3 separate regions of the Homo sapiens genome follow, and regions 2 and 3 are each linked to region 1. Evidence: promoter capture Hi-C in 16 types of primary human blood cells and fetal thymus (Javierre and others, 2016). All regions are on one chromosome and are shown on one strand. The core of a region is centred on a gene start or on the middle of the fragment in contact, and the rest is flanking DNA. Distances in the headings are between cores, read along the strand shown. Region 1 holds the start of CD1B (CD1b molecule). Region 2 has its middle 18 kb from the start of PYDC5. Region 3 overlaps IFI16 (interferon gamma inducible protein 16).

Region 1 (3,338 bases), core at 363-2,862:
TTGTGATAGTCTCCTGTGCCCTGCCAACTCTTTTGGATTATTTTTTAAAATGAGGAACATTTCAGATTTAGTTTGTAGCAATTCAACTTTGGGAGTCTTGCAAGAACTCACTTATTTTAATGGAAAATAGCCCAGGTTGTCTACCAGCTTTTCCTGAGCTCTGTTTTGGGTGTTCTACCCAAAATAAAAAACGTATAAACACAAAAATAGTAATGTTCATGTCTGTGACAGCCAATGTTAAGTCTCTGCTGTTGTCTATGGCTGTTATCCAAAAAGTAGATTCAATTCTGTCATGTATTGGAGTCTGGGAATGTTGTTAAGAGATACATACATTGAAATTTGGAGAGCTGCTCTGTATTTATCAATTAGGCAGTAATAATCTTGGATGAAGGCTAGTCTTATTAATGTTGTGAACCAGTCTTATTAATGTTGTGAACCAGTAGTGTCCCCAGGAATAGAGAACACTACACTACTCACTTTGCATTTTCTTATCCACATAATAGAATTAGTTAGTGATAACCCTCTTTACTCGGAATCGATTGCTGCCACATTTCTGCATGATACATAGATCTCTGCAAATATGTGATTTTTTTCCTAAATGGAGAAAATCCAAAAATTCTTCTTAAAATTTTTCATGGGCATACAAGAAGATAGGAGGTGACATCTTAAAACAAGTATCTCTGAACTTTTTGTATAAAAAAAAGCAACCTCTTTGCTCTATTATTAATACCACATGTGGTGATATGAATGCCCAAATGTAGACAGCAGTTATGAGATATTACAAGAGAAGAAAAAAGCTCTGCCGCTTATGGCAACTTACCCAAAAAGTTATCTTTGACTTAGGCTGGAGGTGCACATAGCATAGCTCCTAGAGTTCTGTTTATGTCATGAATATTTGTTACTCAAAACTCCATAGGCCAAGAGCTCCTGAAGAGAAGGTCACATGCTAGCAGCAATTGTCATTTTTTCCCTCAAATATTGCTATAGTATAATTTTGTTTGAATTATAAACTTCAGTCTTTATTATATTTGATTCTGGCATTTTGGTTTGTAGTGCTATAGTACAGGAAATGTTTTAAATGCTTTGCCTTTATGTAAGTGAATATCGGTACACACACATACACATACACACACAGACACAGACACACACACACACACACTCACAGCCAGTTTAGAATGTGGGGTAAGGAACACCAGACAAAGAGGGCAATATAAGAAAGAGAAGACATTGAAAACATTGGGAAGAGGCAGTAACAGAGTGCCAGAGAAGATAAGGCAGCTGGGAGGGGGAGAAACTAAGTGAGGTGGATAAACTAAAAGCATCCTTCTGGGTTAAAGCAGACTAAAAGCTTAGCAATTGCTTAATATCACCATCTTATCCTATAGATGTGGGAATAAAGGCTAAGGAAGGAGAAATGAAAATGCAGAATCATATGGGGGCTTTTCCAAGGAGGTATGAAGGAAGGTGAGGACAGGGAGAGCGGCTGGAAGTCAGGGGGTAAGAGAAACTCTAAAAATCAGGGCTTGAGGGAAATAAAAGGTGAGGTAAGAGGCTCAGGGCTGTGGGAGGCACATTTTTCTCTGAAAAGCAGTTTGGATGAGGAAGAGATTTGGCAGTTGGAAGAGAGAAGAAGTCACTACAGGGTACTGAGGAAAAGCTTTGCTGAAATTGGAGATCAAATACCAGCTCTGCCAGTAAGAAGTTGCATCTCCCAGTGAAATGCTGCTGCTGCCATTTCAACTGTTAGCTGTTCTCTTTCCTGGTGGTAACAGTGAACATGGTAAGAGTCACTCTGGCAGCTCCCAGCACTGGTGCAGGGGTTTGGATTTTAAAAAGCAAGCAGGGCTTTCCTAGGTGCAATTGGACACTAAGGGTCTGGGTCTTTCTGTCTCCCGCCCTCTTCAACCATTCTGGTGGTTGGGACTAGAACCTGAAGCCTTAAGGCAGTCAAATGTGTCAGACTTCCTGTGTTCTTTAGACTCTAGGTTCTTGTTTTCTAAATCATTTTCATTCCCATTCTTCCTAATTGTCTCCTGCTTCTCTCTTTATCTTCACCATCTTGCTTTTCCACTCTTCACAGCCTTCCAGGGGCCGACCTCCTTTCATGTTATCCAGACCTCGTCCTTTACCAATAGTACCTGGGCACAAACTCAAGGCTCAGGCTGGTTGGATGATTTGCAGATTCATGGCTGGGATAGCGACTCAGGCACTGCCATATTCCTGAAGCCTTGGTCTAAAGGTAACTTTAGTGATAAGGAGGTTGCTGAGTTAGAGGAGATATTCCGAGTCTACATCTTTGGATTCGCTCGAGAAGTACAAGACTTTGCCGGTGATTTCCAGATGAAATGTGAGTCTAGTCCACCGAACTGGGAAGAGTCTCAAGGACTCTCTTTTCTCTCTTTTTTGCAAAGTGTTGCTCTCTCTGATGCTTCTCCCTTCCTTTCTATTTTACCCAAATGCACGCACATGCTTTTCTTGAGTAGTCTCTCACTCCAGCTTCACACCATCACACCTCATATTTCAGATTCTTGCTGCCTCTGCACTCTTCTCTTACTCTCAGACTGTCTTCCACTTTGTAACCAGCTGCTGGTTTGTCTTATGTGAAACTTCTCCTCAAGGGCCCTTACTTCTCCTACCCTGTGCCTGAGTGATCTAACGTGTGGCTTTCTCCCCTAATCCATCTTTTCAATCATCTCCTCCCCGCACCCTCCTCTTGCTGGGAACCTCCACTCACTCTGGAATGCTGCACTCCTGACTGCACCACGCTCTGCCTCACCTCTCCTTTCATACTCACTGTACTCCTTTATCACATACCTTTGTCTTCATGGCATGCACATTTTTCTCAATGCTCTTGTTTCTGAAAATGTCTAAATGTTATCATTAGTTTTTAGCTCATCATCATTTTACACCAAATAACTTTATCCCCACCAAAATCTAAAATCCTAGGTTCTTTTCTCATGCCTTTTTTTCTTATTTGTGTTTAATAACTTGCTCTCTTTTCCCTCTACATAGACCCCTTTGAGATCCAGGGCATAGCAGGCTGTGAGCTACATTCTGGAGGTGCCATAGTAAGCTTCCTGAGGGGAGCTCTAGGAGGATTGGATTTCCTGAGTGTCAAGAATGCTTCATGTGTGCCTTCCCCAGAAGGTGGCAGCAGGGCACAGAAATTCTGTGCACTAATCATACAATATCAAGGTATCATGGAAACTGTGAGAATTCTCCTCTATGAAACCTGCCCCCGATATCTCTTGGGCGTCCTCAATGCAGGAAAAGCAGATCTGCAAAGACAAGGTTAGTCCTGCTGTTATTTCACTTCCCACCACCTCCTCTAAGATCAA
Region 2 (3,031 bases), core at 338-2,837, 650 kb before region 1:
AATAGCCATTTTAAGAAAGAACCAAACTAACCTACTAGAGCTGAAAACTCACTACAAAAATTTCATAATATAATTGGAAGTACTAACAGCAGAAGCTGAGGAAAGCTGAGGAAAGAAATCTCAGAGCTTGAAGATCAGTTCTTCAAATCAACTCAGTCAGATAAAAATAAAGGAAAAAATAATAAAATATGAACGAAACTTCAAGAAATATGAGTTTATGTAAAGAGACCAAACCTACAACTGATTTGCATCACAGAAAGAGAGGGAGAGAGACCAAGCAACTTGGAGAACATATTTGAAGATATTGTCCCTGAAAATTTACCTGACCTTGCTAGAGAGGTTGACATGTAAATTCAGGAAATTCAGAGTACCCCAGCAAGATATTACACAAGATGACAATCCCTAAGACACATAGTTATCCAATTCTCCAAGATCAAGGTAAATAAAACATATGAAAGGCAGCAAAAGAGAAGAGGCAGATCATGTACAAAGGGAACCCTTATCACACTAACAGTGGACCTTTCAGCAGAAATTTTTCAAGCCAGAAAAGATTAAAGGCCTACATTCAGCATTCTTAAACAAAAGAAATTCTAACCATGATTTCATATCCAGCCGAACCAAGCTTTGTAAGTGAAAAAGAAACATAATCCTTTTCAGACAAACAAACACTAAGCGAATTTGTTACCATTAGGCCTGCCTTATAAGAGGTCCTTCAGGGAGTGCTGAACATGGAAACAAAAGGCTGCTACCTGCCACAAAACAACACACTTAAGTAAATATTCCACTGACACAATATGCAACTATACAATCAAGTCTACATAACAACCAGCTAATAACACTATGACAGGATCAAATCCTTACATATCAATATTAACCTTGAACATAAGCAGGCTAACCACTCCACTTAAAAGGCACAGAATGGTAAGTTGGATAAAGAAGCAAGACTCAATTACATGCTGTCTTCAAGAGACCCACCTTACATGTAAAGACACAGGCTTAAATTAAATGGATGGAGGAATATCTATAAAGCAAATGGAAAACAAACAAAATAGAGCAGGGGTTGCTCTTTTATTTCAGGAAAAAAAAAACAGACCTTAAACCAAAAGCTATCAAAGAGGATGAAGAAGGGCATCACATAATGATAAAAAGTTCAATTCTACAAACAAGACTTAACTATCCTAAAGATGTGTGCATTCAGCACTGGCACAACCAGATTCATAAAACAAGTTCTTAGAGACCTATGAAGAGAACTAGCTAACCTCACAATAATAGTGGGAGAATACAACACCCTACTAACATTGTTAGATAAATCATTGAGGGAGAAAACTAACAAAGATATTCAGGAACAAAATTTCACACTTGACTAAATTGACCTAACAGACATATAAGGAACATTCCACTCAACAACAGAATATACATTCTTCTCATCTGCACATGGCACATACTCTGTGCCACATGCTTGGCCACATGCTTGGCCATAAAGCAATGCTCAGGAAATTCAAAAAACAGAAATTATATCAACCACACTCTCAGATCACAGTGCAACAAAAATACAAATCAATACCAAGAAGATCTCTGAAAATCATAGAAGTATTTGGAAATTAAACAACTTACTCCTGAATGACTTTTGGGTAATAAATTAAATTAATGCAGAAATCAAGAAATCTTTGAAACTAATGAAAACAAAAATACAATATATCAGAGTCTCTGGGACACAGCTAAAGCAGTGTTAAGAGAAAAGTTTATAGCACTAAAGGCCTACATCAAAAAGTCAGAAATATCTTAAATTTATACCTAACATCACATTTACAGGAACTAGAAAAAACAAAAGGAAACCAACCCCCAAACTAGCAGAAGAAAAATAATAATCAAAATCTAAGTTGAACCAAATAAAATTGAGATGTGAAAATTCACAAAAATAATTAAGAAAACTAAAAATTGGTTTTTTGAAAGAATAAGATATATAGACCACTAGCCAGATTAATATACAAAAAAAAAAAAAAAAACAGGAGAAGATCCAAATAAATACAATTAGAAATGACAAAGGGGACATTACCATGGAACCCACAGAAATACAAAAACTCTCAAAGACCATTATGAACAATTTCTATGCTGAAAAACTAGAAAATCTAGAAGAAACAGATAAATTCCTGAAAACATACAACCTGCCAAGATTGAACCAGGAAGACATTGAATACCTAAACAGATCAATAACAAGTTCTGAAATTGAATCCATAATAAAATACCTACAAACCAACAAAAGCCATGGATCAGACAGATTCACATCTGAATTCTACCTGATAGATAAGGAGGAGCTGATACCAATCCTACCAAAATTATTCCAAAATATTGAGGAGCGGAGACTCTGCCCTGAATCATTCTATGAGGTCAGCATTATTCTGATACCAAAACCTGACAGAAACACAAAGGAAAAACAAATTCAGGACAATATGCCTGATAAATATTGATGCAAAAGTCCTCAAAAAAAAATACTAGCAAACTAAATCCAGCAGCACAGCAAAAGCTAAGCCACCATGATCAAGTAAGCTTTACCCCTGGAATGCAAAGTTGGTTCAACATACGCAAATTGGTAAATGTGATTTATCACATAAACAGAACTAAAAACAAAAATCACGTGATTATCTAAATAGATGCAGAAAAGGTTTCAATAAATTCAACATTCTTTCATGTTAAAAACCCTCAACAAACTAGGTATCAAAGGAACATACCTCAAAATGAGACATCTATGACAAAACCACAGCCAACATCATATCACAAATAGGCAAAAGCTGAAATCATACCTCTTGAGAACCAGAACAAGACAAAGTTGCCTACTCTCACTACTCCTGGTTCAACATAGCACTGGAAGTTCTAGCCAGAGCAGTCAGGCAAGAGAAAAAAAAATAAAAGACGTCCAAATAGAAAGAAAGGAAGTCAAACTACCTCCTTTTGCAGGTAATATGATTCTATACCCAGAAAACCCCATAGCCTTTGCCCCAAATTTCCCAGAAATTATAAACAACTTCAGCAA
Region 3 (3,293 bases), core at 196-2,695, 690 kb before region 1:
TCCAGTTTATAGGCAAAGCTTCATCTCACACATCAAGACTTTTAATTTCAGGTGTTGGTGGAAAAATGAAACGAAACAATTTTGAGGACTTACCTTATGTAGCATAAATACCCCATATACAATATTTCCTGAAGCTTGTTTGTGAAGAATATCAATCTTCAGAGTTTCCTTTGCTCTGTTGATGATTTTATTTGGAACCTCAAACGTTTGGTTAGGACCAGCTTCAGATACAGTAGATTCTTCATTGACCTCTAGGAGACTATCATATTCCAAATAATCTGATATGATGATGATTTTCTTTCCATTGAATTTCTCCTTCAAGCTGGTGTTTAAAACCTTCACATGGAAGAACTGTGTCTGTGTAGCCACTGTAGCATGAAACATTATTTTTTTCTCCATTTCTGGGGTCTCATATTCAAATGGCTTTGTTGTACTCAGTACCTTCACTATCACTGGGCGTTTTTGGAGAACATTTCTTCTGGGAGTTACCTGACATTTGGCCACTGTTTTCGGGTTCTGTGTATGATAGCACAGGAGAACAAAGAAAAATGTCTAATTGAGAAATACAGAACTGCTATTCAGTGACCTCAGTATAACACAGGGCCCCAAAACTTGCACAGATGTTTAGAGCTGGAGTCAGGATAGAGAGGGATTGCGAGCCAGGGCAGAAGATATCTTAAACTGGTACAATAGCAAGATGAAGTAACAGAGGAGACCATATAGTGAAAAGATGACCTTTCTGTAAACAGAATCAACCTTAAGAAATAAAGCATAAGAGCAACATAAGACCAGTGGATACTGAAAGCCAGTGTCATGAAGTAACTTAATAAATTTTAGGGCCAGGCGCGGTGGCTCACACCTGTAATCTCAGCACTTTGAAACGCCGAGGCGGGTGGATCACCTGAGATCAGGAGTTTGAGACCAGCCTGGCCAACATGGTGAAACCCTGGCACTACTAAAAGTACAAAAATCAGCTGAGTGTAGTGGCAGGCGCTTGTAATCCCAGCTACCTGGGAGGCTGAGGCAGGAGAATCACTTGAACCCGGGAGGTGGAGGCTGCAGTGAGCCGAGATTATGCCACGGCACTTCAGCCTGGGTGACAGAGCGAGACTCTGTCTCAACAACAACAACAACAACAATAAATAAATAAATAAATTTTAGAATGAAATAATTTCTTATACTATTTCTCTTACCAGCTTAAAGTGCCAGAGCCTAAAAATAGACAAAGTTAAATGACATTTAAAATGATCAATAAATACTAAAAAAAAATAAAAATAAAAAAAAAATGAAAAATGGTGCCCACCACAAACTATAGACACAAAGAGTGTTCAGTTATCACCAGTGTAGACAGGGCAATTTAAAGAGCACATTTCATAGTGTTCCTACCCAAGATTCAGTTTGCTTACAGCAGGTGAGAACACAAGTAGGATAAACCCCTCAGAATGCCATCATCTCAGTAGGTTCAGGCTGCAGAAACTCTACAGAGTGTCATTCCCACCACCATAGCCTTTCTCAGTGTCAGGGCTCTAGCAGGTAGCATGCTAACAGAAACCTGGGGCTCAGAAAGGGTTTTCTTTAACATCTTTACTCTTTAACATCCCAGTCTCCTTAAACTGCGATAGAACAGTTTTAATGCAGGGGAGGTTGTTTAATCTACAAGAAAAAGAGCTGAGGGTATGGATAACCTCATTCACAAACTAGCAGGTGCTGGAGAGGTCTGACATGGAATACTATAGTGAACCAAGGGAAGAGGTATGAAGGACATGGGAGCAGTAGACAGTGAGCCCACAGCTGACAGTTCTGTACTGCATAGCTCTCTCTCCCTTCCCCAAACAACACAGAACAGAAAACTTCCTGCAGTCAGAGATAATGTCAAGTTCATCAAGTATCCCTGTGAAAGCAAAAGATCAAAATGTAGTGGTTTCTCAATATGTACATTGGATTAACTAGCAAATTATCGATGCAATTTTTAAGTAACCGGTGAAATCAGTCCTTTACTTTGGGTTGAAAAAAACAAAGCAAAATGGGACCAGGAAGAGTGTACCTCAGTTGAAGAACTGTTGGGTGGAGCTGACAATGAGGTCTTGGGAGATGGGGAACGGCCCATGGCTGTGGACATGCCGGCTCCTGCAGGAGAGGGAGGCTGAGTCTGTTCCTCGGACACCTTACTCCCTTTGGGTCCAGCCTTTTCTTTGGTTGATTTTTTTCTTTTCTGAAAGTGGTTTGATTTTCCTGTTATTCGTTTTCAGTGCCAAATGAAGTAGAGCACATTTTCATTATTGGATAGTAGTTTTATTATTCCTAAGAAGATGTTTCTTGGAAACTTGAGAGGTTGCTGCCCATCTCTCGCCAGTTTAAGAGATGGGCATAGATGGTTTCATTAAACGAAGAAAGAGGAGAATGTTATACACATTATTTCTCTAATTATTTCTGTTATGGGATGTGCTGACTTGGGATTAGAGAAACTAGGTTTTTATACACATGGACAAAGTACTTACCTGATTCTCACGTTGACACTCCACTCTACTAGAATGAAGGTATCACATTTATGTTATATATATTTACATTATGTTTACTCATGTGTTTGGTGCATTGCTTTGAGCATCAATAAGATGATCAATTATCATACAATTTGGTAAATCTGAAACTTGATGGGAAACATGAAGAAATAACTGCCTGCTGGAGAGATTGAGTGGAAGAGCCGTAGCAGAGCTTCCTCTGTGGGACTTGAAGCCTGCTCCTCTTCCTGAAGCTTACCTGAGCTCCAGGAGTTGCCTCTGCTCCTTCAGTTTTGACAGTGCTGCTTGTGGAGGGTGCAGGTGAAGTAGCATCCACTTCCTTCTTCCTCTTTCTTGATAGGGCTGGTCCTTTTACTGGAATAGATTCAATTTTATTCCCAACCAATGCAGAAAAAAGGAAGACATATAAACGATCTCCGACAGCTGAAGCAGTTTCAATACAATTTGCTCTCAGTTCCTGCTTGAGGGTTCAGCTGTGCTTTAGTCTAGCTCTACTGCATTAGCCCAGCCTGGCCTTAAGGAGACCAGCAGTCACAAGACAGGAACAAGCACTGACTCATGCTCCTCAGCACTTTCCTCACTCCTCCCCTGTGCACTGAGCACATGCTTCCTGTTCTCTGAACTCCATGTGCTTCAGTTAACCCTTTCCCAATGCGGTTCTCCGATCATTTTGTTTTAAAAACTAATGTTTTCATGATGGAGACTGCTAGGTCACATTCCCCAGGTAAAGATATTCAAATTATAGAAACCAGCCAAAGGTTTCCATGAGGAAGG

What was found. The method cuts DNA at HindIII sites, captures the fragments that hold promoters and counts their contacts. A CHiCAGO score of 5 or more calls a contact.
Region 2: a contact is called between a fragment that was not itself captured here and the fragment with the promoter of CD1B in region 1, in 6 of 17 cell types (total B cells, fetal thymus, M2 macrophages and 3 more). The highest score is 6.1, in total B cells.
Region 3: a fragment that was not itself captured here is called in contact with the fragment with the promoter of CD1B in region 1 in 1 of 17 cell types (fetal thymus); the score reaches 24.7 in fetal thymus.

Annotation. Positions count from the first base shown.
Region 1 is chr1:158,329,805-158,333,142 of GRCh38, reverse strand. CD1B (CD1b molecule) reads left to right here and starts at 1,612. Exons shown (of 6, transcript NM_001764.3): 1 at 1,612-1,780; 2 at 2,081-2,347; 3 at 3,013-3,291. The coding sequence starts at 1,720. The HindIII fragment of the contact is 309 bases long and covers 1,351-1,659 here.
Region 2 is chr1:158,983,004-158,986,034 of GRCh38, reverse strand. It overlaps a transcript of PYHIN1 not described here. Among named protein-coding and RNA genes, the nearest start is that of PYDC5, 18 kb to the left of the region's middle. The HindIII fragment of the contact is 1,925 bases long and covers 625-2,549 here.
Region 3 is chr1:159,015,452-159,018,744 of GRCh38, reverse strand. IFI16 (interferon gamma inducible protein 16) reads right to left here. Exons shown (of 12, transcript NM_001376587.1): 3 at 2,758-2,873; 4 at 2,045-2,212; 5 at 94-516. Among named protein-coding and RNA genes, the nearest start is that of IFI16, 7.2 kb to the right of the region's middle. RefSeq lists an enhancer at 2,529-3,293. The HindIII fragment of the contact is 2,618 bases long and covers 137-2,754 here.